2 separate regions of the Homo sapiens genome follow, and region 2 is linked to region 1. Evidence: promoter capture Hi-C in 16 types of primary human blood cells and fetal thymus (Javierre and others, 2016). All regions are on one chromosome and are shown on one strand. The core of a region is centred on a gene start or on the middle of the fragment in contact, and the rest is flanking DNA. Distances in the headings are between cores, read along the strand shown.

Region 1 (2,700 bases), core at 38-2,537:
GACACCAGCTCTGTGGTTGACTTAGACGCAGGAGAAAAGATGAGGTTAAAAAGTCCTGGCATTGCCTCTGTTCTGTGTGCCTCCTGGCCAGCAGTATACAGTGACCCAAGATCACCTGGCAGAAATTAAGTCGGCCAAGTCACCCAGGAGACACACTACACAATGCAACGCTTTCGTGATGGAAATTATGGGGAGCTGTCAGGGCGAGAAATGCTGAGCAAGGATGGGCTAAAAAGTGCACAGGTTATTACACCTGTCAGGACTCCTGTGGAAGATGTGTGGGACATAAAAAGAGAAAACCTACTGGACGGAACAGACCAGAAGACAGACAAGAGATGTGAGATGGAAACAAATGGTCCAGACACACTGAACGGGCTGCAAGGTGTGGGACTGGAAGCGTCACCCTAGAAGAGGCACTCACTGGAGTCCCCCAAGATGACCACGAACTTGTTGTGTAGCAGCTGCTGGACTTCCGAGGCCTGGAAGTGGACCATGTCGCTTCGCAGCGGGCGGCGCGGCTCCTCGCTCGACAGACAGAAGACCATGCCGCCACCAGCAACGACAGGCTGCAGGGAGAGGCCACTAAGCAGCGCGATGGTGGGGACTCTGGGCAGGTCAGCCTCAGGGCTAGCCCCTCCGGGGCTGCTCAATGCTAAAGGGAGGAGGTGACGGCAGCAGAGCCATGGTGGCGCCAGCCTTGGTCACACTTGGTACCAGAGGCAGGGGGTCGTCCAGCCAGCAGGCCTCCAGGGCACTGGGGAGCTTCCCGCGCGGCGCCGCCCTGCGCCTCGCCACGTGCCCGCCGCCGTCCCGCGCATGCGCGCACCCGCTCGCGCCAATTACCAAGTCCCGGGGCTCCGCGGTGTTCACCCGCGACCCGGGTATGCCTGCGCACCGCGCGCCTGGCCCGCAGCGGGCTCCTAGCCAAGCCTCATGTTCCCGCGCCCCAGTCGGCCAGTCGGTTCTGCAAAGCTCCCGCCCCGCAGAGACCGTGGGTCCAGGTTAGCCGTCGGTGCACAGCCCAGCGCCCAGCGCTCTCCATGCGAGCGTCGCTGTGGCCCCGACGGCGCCTCAGGCCTCGGCGCCTCGGGCTGCGACGCTCACAGCTTCCACTTCCGTTCACCCATGTCCCGCCCTGAGCGACCCCCAGTGCCCGAAGGGAAAGCAAGGCGATGGAGGTGGCCGCCACAGGGCGCAGGAGCCAGGGCTGGGCCCACTTGGCGGGCGCGAAGCCCAGGTACGGGCTGGGGTCTCGGGGCGGCAGCCAAGTGAGGCTGCCCACAGTGGTGATGGCCGCGGCGGCGGCCTCGCCACGTGACCCGGACGGGCGGAAGCGGAAGTGCCGGCCTGGAGCCCGCTCTAGGTGGGTGTCCCCTCGGTGCTTCCCAGCTGCCGTCTGCACCAGCCATGGACTGCTACACGGCGAACTGGAACCCACTCGGGGACTCTGCCTTTTACCGGTGAGCTGCCCCGCCCTCCCGCCCACGGCCTGGCTTACCCTGCTCGCCCGCCGGCTGGAGTCTCCCGGCGGCGTTCGCCCCTGTCACTACTGGCGCTGGGGTCCGCCCCGCGCCGGCTCTCCCCGAGCGTCTGCCACTTAGCGCACAGCCGCCTTTGGGCAGGGAGCCGGGCCTTCCCCTGCTCCAGAAAAGGAAACTGAGGCAAGCACAGTGGTCACCCCGAAGCCCAGGTCTGTTAGCCTCCGGAAAGATGCTCAGATCTCGCTGAGGGAGGCAGCTCGCGGGTGACAGCGAGTGCCCAGTCTCCTGCCGGAAAGTGCTGCTGAAGTCAGACCACAGGGGCGCTCCGAGGGGGGCGGGATCGCACGGCGGGCGGGGTAACAGTGCTGACCAAGGCTGGGAAAAGGGGGCGAGTCGTCCGTGAATCCCGGAACAGCGGAAGTGGGAACCCCTGGGTTAGGGCAGCCCGCCCATGGGAGTTGTAGAGTCCTAAACCACGGATTTTTCTAAAGTGTAAACCCGTTACATCGTTACCCAGATTAGGATTTTCCCATAGCTTCCCTAATAGGAAAAACTACGAACTTCTCGTGGAACGTCTATCTGTAAGGCAGCCCGTTTGTCTCTCCAACCTCATCTACCGCTCTCCTACCCAAATCTTGCGTTCCAGCTGCGCAGAATTACAAGGCCCTAACCAGTCTGCAGTTTCTGTGGATACTGCCATTTCTCTCTTTATCTCACTGAAGAATTTTGCGCATCCTTCAGGACTTAGTAGTTCAAGGGTTCTTTCTGGAACTGTGCCTGATTCTCCCCCAATAGAATCCTGTGGGCCTCACTGGGCCCAGTGCTAGGGTCTTTTAGGTATGGTCTATTTGTATATTTAGGCGACATTTGTATAGGTTTCTTCTGCTAAACCAGGCTCCTTCAGGGCTGAAAGCATTTTTTTTTTTTTTGACAGAGTCTTCCTCTGTTGCCCAGGCTGGAGTGCAGGGGCACTCGGCTCACTGCAACCTCCGCCTCCCGGGTTCAAGGGATTCTCCTGCCTCAGCCTCCCGAGTGGCTGAGACTGCAGGCCCCTGTCACCACGCCCGGCTAATTTTTGTATTTTTTGCTAGAGGTGAGGTTTCACCATGGTGGCCAGGCTGGTCTTGAACTTCTGACCTTAAGCAATCTATCCACCTTGGCCTCCCAAAGTACTGGGATTACAGGCGTGAACCACTGAGCCCGGCCAAAAGCATGTTTC
Region 2 (2,700 bases), core at 186-2,685, 100 kb before region 1:
CAGGCACACCATGGTGACCATGCACCAGCCCCTTCCTGCCGCTGCATGTGGCATGCCCAGAGGCCTCCCATTAGTGGCCACTCCACCCTTCCTCCTCTCCCCTCAGGCCTGGTTTGGGGAAAGTGGAGCCACTGCCACTCTTGGTGGGCAGCTGGGGGCCCCTTAGCAGTCTCTCCACACCCCCTCCCCTTCTCCTCAGGCCCCATGCCCAGCCCTGAGGTTTGGAGAGCCTAGTAAGTGCCCTATCAACATGTTAATCAAATTACTTAGGAGCTAAAATTGACGCTGTTCATTAATTATACAAGATTATGCTAATTGTGCATGCAAATGCATGCAGGGGAACAGAAGGTGTTCAGGCGCATGGTGGGCCATTAGCATAGAGGATGGGGTGCGGGTGCATTGGCATGCTAATGTATGCGCCCTGGCTATTTATAGTCCTCCAGCCCATCTGCACTGCAGCCACCTCTACCCGGGTGGGGATCATGGTGGGGAGGCCAGGTCCAGGCCTGGCAGGTGGCTGTGGCCCTGGGGACAGTCTATCTTGGCTTCTACCGCAGGCTAAGACCAGGAAGCAGCCTGGGCCAACCCCACATGGGCCTGAACTATTACAGTAAGCTCCTCATTTCCCTTCCCTTCTCTAGCGTAGGCCCTTTGGTGCCTGTTTCTGCCTGAAGGGAGACATCCCCTGTAGCCTTCCCATCACCCAGAGGATCCAAGTCCCGCATGATTTGGTCCCAACCCCAGGCCCCAAGCCACGCTGCCCTCCTCAGTCTTGTCAGGCACCACTGATCGAGTGAGCCGTCTGCCCCGTGGTGGAGCTGTTAGTCCCTTTGCATGGAGGGCCCTGCCTCCTACTTCTCGGTGAGATCCTCCAAGACCCATCACCCAAGACCAAATTGGAGCTCTAGGAAGCATTCCGCCTCCCCTAGGCAAAATAAGTGGCCACTGCAGATTACACTTGGCACATCCTCCTGCCGTGCCCACCACTCTGTCTTCCTGAGTTTCTCTTTCCTGTTGGGTTGTAATTTCCTTAAGATTTTATACAATGCCGCAGTGCCTAACACATAGAAGGTATTTAATAAATCTTTTTAAGTGGGTGTATGGAATGAATGAGGGGATGAATGGCCCAGCCCTCTGTGTCCTCCTCTGTCCCTGAGCTGAGGGTAGAGAGAAGCAGACAGTGAACACGCTGGAGAGCCAGAAACTGCTTCAGTTTCTTCGGAGGCTCATGGGAGCCCAAGACAAATCTTTTAGGATAAAAATTAGCGGAGATCCCTGTCCCCTTATTTCCCCATCTCAGGCTGCAGTGCCAGCTTTGGGCTTGGAAACACATATCCAATTTAATCTACCCTTCACTCTTAACCTGCTGTCTTTCCCAAGGCCTTCACAGGACACACTGTTGTTTGGAACATCCTGCCCCAGCTCGTATATCCATTCACTGCATACCTTCTTTCTAGATCTGCACTGTCCAATATGGTAGTCTCGAGCCACATGTGACTATTTAGATTTATGTTCATTAAAATGGCTGGGCGCAGTGGCCCACGCCTGTAATTCCAGCACTTTGGGAGGCCAAGGCGGGTGGATCACCAGAGGTCAGGAGTTCATGACCAGCCTGACCAATATGGTGAAACGCTGTCTCTACTAAAAATACAAAAATTAGCTGGGCATGGTGGCAGTCGCCTTTAGTCCCAGCTACTCAGGAGGCTGAGGCGGGAGAATCGCTTGAACCCAGGAGGTGGAGGTTGCAGTGAGCCGAGATCACGCCACTGCACTCCAGCCTGGGCAACAGAGCGAGACTCCGTTTCAAAAAAAAAATAGATTTATGTTAATTAAAATGAAATAAAATTCAGTTCCTCAGTTGCACTAGCCACATTTCCAGTGCTTAGTAGCCATGCGTGGCTAATGCATATCATTCTGGAAAAAGTTCCCTTAGGGAGCACTGTAATCTAGACACGTTCTTCCTTGCCCCTGACAGACCTGTAGTGGAAAATGCACTCGGGCTCTCCTTCCAGCTCTTTGAGTTACTGACAGCTTTCTCTTTGGAAGTGAGAACATAATTTCAGCCCTAAGTATCTCATGGGGATGCAGGGAAGAAAAAGCTGGTGAAAAGCCTTAGCTCTGTGACCTAAGTTTTCTTAGGGTGGGATTCCTGGAAGCAGAGCCTGAGATGGGGATTCTTGTGAAAGAGGTTTATCAAAGGAGAGCTCTCAGGAGAAAAGGAATGAGTATAGAGGGAGTTTAACAAGGAGGTGGTCTCGGTCGGAGTCTAGCGTCAGCCTATCCCATGCAGAGGTCTGGAGTGTGAATGGCCAGAGAGTTGGTCCTCCTTGTAATGTCAATCTGTCATTGGCTGTGGGCTACTGGTGGGGAGTATATGCTCTTGGCTGAGGGTAATTCTCAGATTACCTTGGGGCAGCTGCGAGCCATTTGACAGTCTACACTGCAGCTGGGGCATGAGGGAATCAGGCAGGCATCAACTCACTGTAAAGTTCCTGGACGTTGTCTTCCAAAAGAAGCTCCAGGCCAGGCATGGTGGCTCATGCCTGTAATCTCAGCATTTTGGGAGGCTGAATCAGAAGGATCGCCTGAGCCCAGGAGTTTGAGACCAGCCTGGGCAACGTACTGAGACCTCCGTCTCTACAAAAAATAAACAAAATTAGCTGAGCATGGTAGTGTGACCTGTAGTCCCACCTGCTCAGG

Evidence for each region. Contacts are between HindIII fragments. The CHiCAGO score rates a contact against its expected background, and 5 or more counts as called.
Region 2: a contact is called between a fragment that was not itself captured here and the fragment with the promoter of PCED1A in region 1, in 3 of 17 cell types (megakaryocytes, total CD8 T cells and activated CD4 T cells). The highest score is 8.0, in megakaryocytes.

Annotation. Positions count from the first base shown.
Region 1 is chr20:2,839,368-2,842,067 of GRCh38, forward strand. PCED1A (PC-esterase domain containing 1A) reads right to left here and starts at 1,288. Exons shown (of 8, transcript NM_022760.6): 1 at 844-1,288; 2 at 422-566. The coding sequence starts at 545. It overlaps VPS16 (VPS16 core subunit of CORVET and HOPS complexes), which reads left to right and starts at 1,378. Exons shown (of 24, transcript NM_022575.4): 1 at 1,378-1,460. The coding sequence starts at 1,408. RefSeq lists enhancers at 590-1,121, 1,655-2,186. The HindIII fragment of the contact is 13,128 bases long and covers 1-2,700 here.
Region 2 is chr20:2,738,508-2,741,207 of GRCh38, forward strand. The region is part of intron 6 of EBF4 (EBF family member 4); the gene reads left to right. Among named protein-coding and RNA genes, the nearest start is that of EBF4, 47 kb to the left of the region's middle. RefSeq lists an enhancer at 55-636. The HindIII fragment of the contact is 5,127 bases long and covers 1-2,700 here.